3 separate regions of the Homo sapiens genome follow, and all the other regions are linked to region 2. The links are contacts of gene promoters, found by promoter capture Hi-C in blood cells and fetal thymus (Javierre and others, 2016). All regions are on one chromosome and are shown on one strand. The core of a region is centred on a gene start or on the middle of the fragment in contact, and the rest is flanking DNA. Distances in the headings are between cores, read along the strand shown.

Evidence for each region. Contacts are between HindIII fragments. The CHiCAGO score rates a contact against its expected background, and 5 or more counts as called.
Region 1: a contact is called between a fragment that was not itself captured here and the fragment with the promoter of GALNT10 in region 2, in 1 of 17 cell types (naive B cells). The highest score is 5.1, in naive B cells.
Region 3: a fragment that was not itself captured here is called in contact with the fragment with the promoter of GALNT10 in region 2 in 1 of 17 cell types (erythroblasts); the score reaches 5.6 in erythroblasts.

The regions. Positions count from the first base shown.
Region 1 is chr5:154,491,408-154,495,253 of GRCh38, forward strand. It overlaps the pseudogene LOC100128833 and the pseudogene LOC100271907. Among named protein-coding and RNA genes, the nearest start is that of HAND1, 15 kb to the left of the region's middle. The HindIII fragment of the contact is 5,860 bases long and covers 1-3,846 here.
Region 2 is chr5:154,188,535-154,192,098 of GRCh38, forward strand. It overlaps GALNT10 (polypeptide N-acetylgalactosaminyltransferase 10), which reads left to right and starts at 2,199. Exons shown (of 12, transcript NM_198321.4): 1 at 2,199-2,491. The coding sequence starts at 2,333. It overlaps LOC124901118 (a long non-coding RNA gene), which reads right to left and starts at 1,545. Exons shown (of 2, transcript XR_007059010.1): 1 at 1,462-1,545. RefSeq lists an enhancer at 609-1,574 and silencers at 1,795-1,884, 1,975-2,074, 2,085-2,194, 2,285-2,364, 2,435-2,494. The HindIII fragment of the contact is 10,101 bases long and covers 1-3,105 here.
Region 3 is chr5:154,605,057-154,608,854 of GRCh38, forward strand. No RefSeq gene overlaps it. Among named protein-coding and RNA genes, the nearest start is that of MIR3141, 11 kb to the left of the region's middle. The HindIII fragment of the contact is 1,837 bases long and covers 1,395-3,231 here.

The DNA.
Region 1 (3,846 bases), core at 794-3,293, 300 kb after region 2:
ACACTTGGCTATTTTTGTTTTTTCAGTAGAGACGGGTTGTCACCGTGTTAGCCAGGCTGGTCTCGAACTCCTGACCTCAGATGATGATCTGACCACCTCGGCCTCCCAAAGTGCTGGGATTATAGGCATGAGCCATGAGATTCTTTTTTTTTTTTTTTTTTTTGAGACGGAGTCTCGCTCTGTCGCCCAGGCTGGAGTGCAGTGGCACGATCTTGGCTCACTGCAAGCTCTGCCTCCTGGGTTCACACCATTCTCCTGCCTCAGCCTCCCGAGTAGCTGGGACTACAGGTACCCGCCACCACGCCCAGCTAATTATTTGTATTTTCAGTAGAGACAGGGTTTCACTGTGTTAGCCAGGATGGTCTCGATCTCATGACCTCGTGATCTGCCCACCTCGGCCTCCCAAAGTGCTGGGATTACAGGCGTTAGCCACCACGCCCGGCCAAGCCATGAGATTCTGAGCTGACATTTAGAAGTGTGGTGGATCTCCTTCCTATATCTGATAGATTTAGAAACTCTGAATGAAATCAGAATTGGGTGGGGAAGGAGGGTGAATGTCTCAGAAATTATCCATCCCAGCCACTTCCCTGTCCAGGTGCAGAAACACAGTCCCAGAGAGGAGAGGGATTTGCCCAAGGGCACACAGCAAAACTGGGACTTTGGAGAGAGGAGTGTAACAATGTCAAGTCTTTCATTCCTTTTTTGTCTCAACCATGAAAGTCTTGGGGGCTGGGGGGACCTGGCCTGGAGGCCAGGCAGCCAGGGGGACATGACTCTGGAATGTGTTGGGGAAACAAGATGCCTTCTCCTCCAGACCTGACAAGCCAACAGGACTAGGTGTGGCAAGAAAGGGCTCTGGTTATCTGCCTCCCCCCTCTGTTTCGTTTGGTCTGTCAACTCCAGCAACAAAGTGCCCCAAACGTGTGAGGCTTGATAAAGATGGGAAGGTAAGAGGGTGAAGGTAGTGGGACAACAGGGACCAGAGCTTGAGAGGTGTCCCAGGACCTCTGTCTCTGCTTTCTCCAAGAGTCTGGGAAGCCAGCAGGATACCCCTCTCTCCTTCACAGCCTCCCCCTACTCTGTGATTGTGGCCAAAACCCTTAACTTCTCTGGGTGGTTGTGTCTTCTTCATTTCAAGATGGGACAGGATAAACCCTTAATACTTAGATCCTAAATCAGAGGATTTTGACTTTGAAAAAGAAGTCTACCATCTTATTCTTCCCTTTGTATTATTTTTTTAATTCAAAAAGTAATATGGGCTGGGCCTGGTGGCTCATGTCTGTAATCCTAGCACTTTGTGAGGCCGAGGCAGGAGAATGGCTTGGGCCCAGGAGTTAGAGACCAGCCTGGGCAACATAGGGAGGCCTCATCTTTACAAATAATAATAATAATTAAAAAAAAAAAAAAGCTGGATGTGGTGGTGTGCCCTTGTAGTCCCAGGTACTTGGGAGGCTGAGGTGAAAGGATTGCTTGAGCCCAGGAGCTTGAGTCTGCAGTGAGCTGGGACCGCACCACTGCACTCCAGCCTGGGTAACAGAGTGAGATTCTATCTCAAAAAAATTAAAAAAAAAAAAAAAAAAAAAGTAATGCGAGAACCTGAGAAAGAAGAAACCATCCATAATCTTTCTAACCCCAAATAACTGTTACCATTAGGATGTGTATGTTGCCAAAATGGGGTCAGAGTCTATTCTGTTTTCCTTTTCTCACTTAGCAATGGGTGGCCGGCTTTTTTTTTTCAGGGGTGGGGGTGTCAATGAATATTATTTACTTCATATTACGTGGCTATTTGATAATTATTGATTATTGTTAGGTTTTCTAAAGGTGTGATAATGACATTGTACCTATGCTTTTTTAAAAGAGTCCTTTTAGAGACGGCGTCACAGGTGGTGGAGCGCTGGGCGATCAGGCTGCCTAACTGGCCGGCTTGGGCGTCTGGGCGGTGAAGGTGGGACTGCCTGTTCTGGGCAGCAAGTTCCCCTCTCCAGCTGCCCGCCATTCATAACATGTCCGCCAGAACCCGGGAAGCACAGGCAGGGCTGGCTTAGAGAAGACGCGGTCCCCAGCGCTTGGGCCACGGACGTCCCAGCCCGGTCCTCTGTCGCAGGAGAACCGCTGGGCCGAGCCGCTGGGAGAAGCAGGCCAGAGCCTTCCAGAGCCTCCGCCCGAGGACCTGACAAAGAGCGCCTCCTCCTCCGCAGCCGGGTTCCCGGTGGCCTTACCAGCCTCCAGCAGCAGAAGCAACGCCTGATCGAGTCCCTCCGGAACTCACACTCCAGTATAGCTAAAATACAGAAAGATGTGGAATACAGATTGCCATTCACCATAAACAACCTGACAATTAACATATATTGCTTCCTCCACAATTTCCTCAGGAAAAACCAGTGATCAGTGTTTTTCCACCAATACGACATCACTTAATGGATAAACAAGGAGTGTATGTTACTTCTCCATTAGCAAACAATTTTACAATGCACCCAGATCTTGGAAAAATTATTCAGAGTCTGTTGGATGAGTTTTGGAAGAATCCTCCAGTTTTAGCTCCTACTGCAACAGCATTTCCTTACCTATACAGTAACCCAAGTGGGATGCCGCTTTATGCTTCTCAATGTTTTCCATTTCTTCCTCCATATCCCCCAGAAGAAACAAAGAGGAGTTATCACTTCTTTATCTGTTGCTAATACTGTTTCTTCTTCAACAACAAGTCATACCACAGCCAAGCCCGTCGCTCCTTCATTTGGTGTCCTTTCAAATCTGCCATTACCCATTTCCACAACAGATGCTTCAATATTGACAAGCCAAAATGGTTTTGGTTACAAGATGCCAGATGTCTCTGATGCATTTCCAGAACTCTCAGAACTAAGCGTGTCACGACTCACAGATATGAATGAACAAGAGGAGGTATTACTAGAACAGTTTCTGACTTTGTCTCAACTAAAACAAATTATTACTGACAAAGATGACTTAGTAAAAAGTATTGAGGAACTAGCAAGAAAAAAATATCCTTTTGGAGCCCAGCTTGGGAGCCAAAAGGCAAACCGTTTTAGATAAGTATGAATTACTTAAACAAATGAAGTCTGCTTTCAAAAAGAAGATGCAAAGGCAGTGTGAACTTAGTGAGAGCTGTAGTGCAAGTGCCCTACAGGCAACATTGAAAGTAGCTGCACATGAAGCTGGGGAAGAACCTGATAATATTGTGGAAGACTTTGTGGAGGGAAAAATGGAAATAAATGATTTTCTCAGTAGCTTCATGGAAAAGAGAACAATTTGCCACTGTAGAAGAGCCAAGGAAGAGAAACTTCAGCAGGCAATAGCAATGCATAGCCAATTTCATGCTCCACTATAGACATACACTGCCAAATGGAAGAAATTAAAGCCGCTTCCTCAATATTAGGCAACAAAGTTTCTAAGAGTGGGCAGCTACAAGAATGGCGTGTAGTGAGTTATGTTATAAAAATGTGAAAGCCATTACCACTATATCCTAAGTATTTATCATTTTAGCAAGGTATTCCCTGTTACATACAGTATATGGCAGAAAATGAATATACATTCCTTGTACTTAATTTGGGAACTGCTCAGCAGGTAATGCTCAAATTTTATATTCTAAAAGAATTACACTTGCTTTATTTTTTACATTAACAGAGTACTTTTATATCACAGTTCTTTAGTATATTCTTTTTTTTGAGACGGAGCCCAGGCTGGAGTGCAGTGGCACTATCTCAGCTTATCACAGCCTCCGCCTCCCAGGTTCAAGCTATTCTCCTGCCTCAACCTCCCGCATAGCTGGGATTACAGGCATGTGCCAACACGCCTGGCTAATTTTGTATTTTTAGTAAAGAGGGGGTGTCT
Region 2 (3,564 bases), core at 949-3,448:
AGCAGAGGGGCGATACAATCTAACCTTGGATAAAACAAGATCATTCTGGCTGCCACATTCTTTTATTTATTTAATTAATTAATTAATTTATTTATTTATTTATTTTTTTGAGATAGAGTCTCGCTCTGTTGCCAGGCTGGAGTGCAGTGGCACGATCTCGGCTCACTGCAACCTCTGCTTCCTGGGTTCAAGCGATTCTCCTGACTCAGCCTCCCAAGTAGCTGGGATTACAGGTGCCCGCCACCACGCCCAGCTAATTTTTGTATTTTTAGTAGAGACAGGGTTTCGCCATGTTGGCCAGGATGGTCTCGATCTCTTGACCTCGTGATCTGCCCGCCTTGGCCTCCCAAAGTGCTGGGATTACATGCATTTTTAAATCTGACTCTCATTCGCCAATGGGTATAAGAAAAGCATGTACCTCACAGGGTAACTGTGAGCATTTAAAGAGGTAATGCATCTCAAGGGCTGCCTGACATAGAGTAAGCACTCAATAAAAGGTAAGCATTATTGTGATGGAAATCTAAAGAAAGAAAACAGTTCCCTGAGGAGGAGTTTTAGAAGGCTTCGTGGAGGAGGTGGCAGTTTAACTAGACACGGAAGGATGAACAAGATTTCCACCGACCTAGAGAAGGGGGTTTTATGGGTAGAAGGAGCTGCGTGGTCAACAGCACAAGAAGGAAAACACAAAGCCTGCAACAGGCTAAGCGAAGCTCAGGGCAGGGCAGGGCAGGGCACGGCAGGAGACAGAACGTTTGATCAGCCCTAGCAGGTCATAGGAGAGGAGCATGATGGACTCTAGAGCCGAGGTGATGGAAGCCTTGAAGGTTTTGCTGCAGAAATCAAGAACTGAGCTGTGATGTCAGAAAACTGAATCCCCATCGCTCAGCCTGGAGCTGGAAGAACTTGGAGGCAAGAGTTGCCAGAACGCTGGTCAAGGACTAGTGGCAGCTAGGCACGAAGGTCAGCGGCTGAGCTAGAGAAGCAGAGAATCAAGAGGACGAATGTGGGGGTGGCAGAGAGTAAGGTAGCCAAGGGGGTGCTCCGTTCCACCGCATCAGGGAGGAGGCAGCTAAGTGACCAGCGTCGAGCGCCCCGAGGAGGAGCCGCTGGCTGGCATCACCGTCGGAGTCCGGCTCCACGGCCCTCCGCATCGCCCAGAAGCCCGACTCCTCTGTCAAAGCCCTCGCCACAGTTACAGACACATTGCCTGGTCTAGTGAAATTACGTGTTTCATGTTTCAGCTCCCAGACGTCAGGGCTCAGGTCTGTTTTCATTTCATCCCAGAGCCTGGCACAGTGTTTGGCACATAGTGGCGCTCGCCAACGGTTTGCTGAGAGCTTTCCGGGAAGGGCTCAGTGCGCTTAGGATCCAAAAGCACGCGTGAGAATGCAGGGCATTCTAACTCCAAGGGGGTTGGACTTGCGTGAGGAAAGGTGCTGCAGAGAGGCTACCGTCACTTACCCACCCGCCGGTTTGCAGGATCTACAGACGGGCGGCGGCCGGGCACAGCTCCCTACAGTTTGCAGAGGGCGTTCACACCTAACGCCAGGGCCCCCCTAGAGGAAGAAAACCAGGGCCCGCCCGCGGAACAGTGAGCGTGCAGCACGGCTGTGGCCCCGTTTCATGGCCGGGAACACCGAGTCGCCGGGGTCAAAGTAGGTCCGCAGGTCCTGGGGGCCGAGCCTAGGTGGGCTGGAAGTGACAGCCCCGGGGGCTCCAGGCTCAGAACGCCCGGCGGGGCCCCAGCACTATTTGCATATCCCCAGGGAGGCAGCAAAGGTTCGGCTGCAGTCCCGGGCGGAGGTTGCCGGGCGGGGCGGCAGGGTACCCGGGCGAGCGGACATGCACCCCACCCAGCGGTGCCCAGCCCGCACCAGTTAGCGCCCAACTCGCCAACTCCGGGACTTTCGCAAAGCTCCAGAGGGCGGGGGAGCCGCCGAGGAGTGGGACGGACCATCGCGGCTCGAGAGGGGGGAAGCGCTCCGGCCCGGCATCCTGCAGCGCCCGGGCGGGCCGAGACGCTCCGTGAGAGGGCCGAGCCTGCAGCGCAGAGACTCGGCGGTCGACGCGGGGGCAGGCGGCGCGGGGCGGGCGGCTCGGCGGGGCCCGGGGGCGGTGGCGGCGGCGACGACCCCCTCGTGGCGGCGGCGTGGTGGCGGCGCCCAGCTCCCCGGCCGGCGAGCGGCGGAAGTGCCGCGGAGTTGGAGCGGGGCCGGCGCCGCAGCCGCTTCTGCTGGCTGAGCTGCTGCCGCCGCCGGGCGGACGGGCGGACGCGCGGAGCTGGGGGCGGCGCGGCGGGGCCGGCGGGGCGCGGCGGGGCTGACCGGCCCCGATGAGGCGGAAGGAGAAGCGGCTCCTGCAGGCGGTGGCGCTGGTGCTGGCGGCCCTGGTCCTCCTGCCCAACGTGGGGCTTTGGGCGCTGTACCGCGAGCGGCAGCCCGACGGCACCCCTGGGGGATCGGGGGCGGCGGTGGCGCCGGCGGCGGGACAGGTGAGTCCCCCCGTTGCTACAGGCCGGGAACACCCCCTTCCCGAATTCACTTTTAGCCTGTGGTTCCTTCCTCCACCTTCTGCTGTCTGCCTCCTCAGAGTCAGCTCCGAGACTCTTCAGCTCTTCCCATTTTCCGGATGGGAAAATTAAGTCCTGTCGGGACTTGTCCAGGGTCCCACGCCAGTCAGAGACTGAGTCCGAACTAGCACTCAGGACGCTATTTCTCACCACATGTTACCACCTTCCTTTCTGTCCCCGTCTGGTATTCCTTGACGTCTTCCAGCGGATCTCTTTTGAAGGATCCTATCTGCATCCCTGTATCCCAGGATGACTCCTGCCTTGTGCCAATAGGAATGAAGATTCTGGTTCTTCTATTTGGTGTCCAGGTCCTCTCTGCTTCCCTCCTCCCACCCCCCCCCCCCCACAACCCCTACCTGCTGATCCCAGTGTTCTTTGCTCAGGTCAGCCCTTTTCCTGATTTCTCATCTGCCCAACGAGACACCCGGGCCTTCCTCCTCTCCCCATTTATTCAACACCCCCGCCCCAACTCTAGCCTTTTCCTTTCTCAGATCCTGTGGATTCCTTGCAGAATGTAAAGATCATGCTCCCTTTAAAGCTTCAAGCCCCTGGGGGTGGAGAAGGGGGTAAGCTCCTGGTCCTTGAGGGACCTGCTGCCTTTGACCTTATGGGAGTCCAGAGGTGGGGCTCTGGTGGGGGGACCCCCAAAATGTCCCAGAGGCTATTGGTGCCCAGTGTCCTGAGGATGGAACACCAGAAGCCTTCCCTATCTCTTCTGAACTTGTCTAGTCTGGTTAGTTGTAGTGTTTATTGCAGCCAAAACTGGGATCGGAATGGTTTCTGCCTCCTTTGAACTTACCCACGTATGTTTGTGTGTATGTGTGCGTGCACGCATTTAGACTAGCAGCTCCCTCATAGCAGAAGCTCTGTCACATCACTCCCACCCTCCCAGGAGGTGCTAGTGAGTGTATTGCTTAGACTGTTTCATATAGTGGAACATTTCAGGCTTTCTTACGGGATTTCTCTGGTCCCATGAGAAGTGGATAATTTGTGTA
Region 3 (3,798 bases), core at 1,063-3,562, 420 kb after region 2:
TCTGCAGGTAAGGCACTAGAGATTAGAGACTGGCTTCCCAGACCACTTGCTAACCAGAAGTGTTCCTCATCTGCAGAATGGGAGTAATGACGCCTGACTCACGGGTGGCTGGCAGTTTTAGATGAAATAACAGGGAACCATGCCCGGCACTTAGCAAGGTCTCATAAATGGGAACTGGTGTGATTCTTGAGCACTATTCTGTGCCAGCCTCTGCCAGGAACTGGAGACCCGAAGCACAATCAGAGAGGGGCTCAGCCTTCAAAGCACCTGTATCAATCAGGACAAGCCAGGTTTTCCTACAGTAACAAAAAACCTAGCTTTGGCCAGGCGTGGGATTATGCTGTAATCCCAGCACTTTGGGAGGCCGAGGCGGGCGGATCACTTGAGGTCAGGAGTCTGAGACCAGCCTGGCCAACATGGTGAAACCCCGTCTCTACAAAAACACAAAAATTAGCCGGGCATGGTTGCAGGTGCCTGTAATCCCAGCTACAGGCTGAGGCAGGAGAATTGCTTGAACCTGGGAGGCACAGGTTGCAGTGAGCCAAGATAATGCCATTGCACTCCAGCCTAAGTGACAGAGCGAGACTATCTCAAAAAAAAAAAATACCCCAGGTTTATTTCTTACTCACACTGCATGTCCAACACAGGTCAGCATGAGTTTCTGTTCACCCAGTGACTCAGGGACAGGGGCTGGTGGACCCTCCACCTTGACACATTTGCAAGATCACTGTGGCAAGGTGAAGCAAACTTGGGGACTCACACACTGGCTTATAGTTTCTACTGCTAACATTTCATGGTTAAAGTAATCACATGGATATGTCTAACCTCAAAGGGGACAGGACAGTATAATCCTACCTTGCGCCGGGAAGGAGGAGGAAAATGACTTCCACATGCCCCACAGTCCAGGGGGAGAGGCGTAAATAGGGTAAACCACAACTCTGATGGAGTTAAGTCCTTACTGTGTTACAGGAACACAGAGGAGAAGCAACTTTATTGGGAGGCCTAGGGGGGCCTTCATTGCCCAGGTGACCTGTGAGCCTAGCATGGAGATCAGGGGTTATTAAGTTGGGGTCCAAGGATCCATAATTGCATGGCTGGCCTTCAGGGACCCAAAACTTCCTGAAACTTCAAAATCTTGGATGTAGGTGAGTTTATGCATTTTCGCAAGAAGAAAGTCCTTAACTTTCATTATCTAAGACTTGGGCTGCCAGATGGTCACTACGTCTTTCTTCTGACTTTTGTCTTTCTATTATAGTGTACCATATCTTAAAGTGCAATGCTCAAACCACCCGCAGCAGACAATCTAGACAGTTGTCAAAAATGCATAGCCCAAGGCCCAGCTCTGACCAACTGAATTGGAATCTCTGGGGGTGGTTCCAATCTGCATTTTAACAAGCTTCCCAGGTAGCCCTCATACATCTTGAAGTCTGTGGTTCTCTCAGCCAGAGATAGCACTCTCCCAGCCCAGTTAGGCTGTGAAGAAAGCACAGAGAGAGCTGAGCCACACGGTTGAGAAGAATCCTCCAAGGCCAGAGAGCACTTTACAGTTTCCAGAGGGCCACCACCTCGTGCCTTATCCAACCTCACTGCAGAACGGTGGAGTGGAGGTGCCAGCTCTCCACTGGCACAAAAGAGGTGCTCAATGAATATCACCTAGCGAAATGACAGGAAATGAAAAGAGAGCCAAACAAGACAGGATGGCCTAAAAATGACATGCCCTGAAATCAGACCACCCTGAGTTCAAATTTCAGTCTTGCCAGTTCCTAGTTGGGTAATCTCGGACAAGTTACCCTACCTCTCAGGACCTCAGCTTCCTTGTCTGTCATCAGGAATGTGTCTTTCTTCCCTCTAGGACTGTGTTGGCACACAGCACAGCTTCTCTAAAGGTCACCAGAAGGATCCTAAGTGCTTTAATAATTCTCGTGTCAGGCCTCCTCAACTCCATTCTAGAGGTGAGGGGAGGGAGTCCTGGAGATGGCTCCCCTAGAAGCACTAGAAGCATGATTCATGCCCTGGCAAAGCCCGTCCCCACCAAGCCCTGGGTCTTGTCCTCGTCTTCCCAGAGTCATGCTGGCCAGAGCTGAGACTCCATGCTATCATGTGAGCAGTCAGCCCTAGACACTCACATTCACCCCTGCCAGGAAAAGGGGATTCCTTTGTCCCTGATAACTCCTGGGGACCCACCCTGGCACAGGTAGGCAGACCCCCAGGAGGCAAGGCTGATGGTTAAATCAGGGGTTCCAGCCCACCTGTGCTGAAGAAGAACCTGGAAAGTGTGTTCAATGCCCAAATTTCTGGTCCCACCCCTGGCAATTCTCATTCTGCAGCTTTGGATTAGAGCCCAGGGATGGCATTTTAACAAATTCCCAGGGATTCTGATCTTCAGCCAGATCCCGGAGCCGCTGCTCTGACCTCCAGGTGGTTTAGAATGTGTGGTTTGGGGGCCAGGCGCAGTGGCTCATGCCTGTAATCCCAGCACTTTGGGAGGCTGAGGCAGGCAGATCACCTGAGGTCAGGAGTTCAAGACCAGCCTGGCCAACATGTAAGACCCCGTCTCTACTGAAAATTCAAAAATTAGCTGGGCGTGGTGGCAGGCGCTGGTAATCCCAGCTACTGGAGAGGCTGAGACAAGAGGATTCCTTTATTTTCTTTTTTTAATTTTTTGAGACGGAGTCTCACTCTGTCACCCAGGCTGGAGTGCAGAGGCGTGATCTCGGTTCACAGCAAAAGGAGGATTGTTTTAACCCAGGAGGCAGAGGTTGCGGTGAGCCAAAACTGCACCATTGCACTCCAGCCTGGGCAACAAGAGCAAAACTCTGTCTCAAAAAAAAAAAAAAAAAAAAAAACAATGTGTGGTTTGGAATGTCTGGTAGGCAGATGGAATCCTGGCCACCCAGGATCCTGTCCCCAACAGGGATGCTGCTTCATGCTAAGCCCTTTCCCTCTGCAGGTTGCCACCAGCCCGCCCATCTCCACCATGCCCTATGCTACCCTTCCTTGTGGCCTGAGCCTGGTGGTGGGAGCAGGTCTGCAAGGAGAAGGCACAACTGGATTTTTAGATGGATTGGGTGGTAGAATGAGTTCTGGGCTGGGGGATAAGAAATCCCAGCAGAAACCCTTCTGTTTTCTATATCCCTTTCAGGCTCTCAGAGCCTCAACTTCCTCATCTGTATACAGGGCTTATTCCCCTGATGGAAAATTAGAGATGGACACTTACCATGGAGCTAGTGAAGCTTAGGTCTCAGGGGACCTCATGTACACATGGCTCTTCTAAAGCCCTGCACCTAATTTTGTTTTCTCTTCCTTAAACAGGGGCCCATAAAATCCACACCAGGCCCTGACTGTAAGAGTGGCTATGAAAATGCCAAATGAGGGATAAAACCAGAGGGCTTTCACCTAGGGAACTCACCACCTCCAAAAGGGGAAGAGAGCCCTCCTAAGGTGCTCCTGGAGCTCCCCTCCTCACCAGCTTTGGTTTCTCCACTTTCCTACCGGATGAGTCCTGCCTCTTCCTGCCTGGGAGTTTATCAGCAGGGAGTGGCAGGGCCTGCTAATCAGGGGCTGCTCCAGGCCCCCGGGATTAACCCTGCAGACCCTGGGCCAGGGTCAGCAGCCCCGGCTACCAGTTATGCTCCCGGGTTCTCATCTGTGGATTAGATTGCTGGGGAGGGAGGAAGGGGAACTTTAGGGAGGGACTCACTGGCAGCCAGAGAGATTAAAACTAAATGAGAATACCTCACTCTCCTACTTAGAACCCTTCAGGGGGCTGCCTCTGCGTCTAAAATGAAACCCAGACCT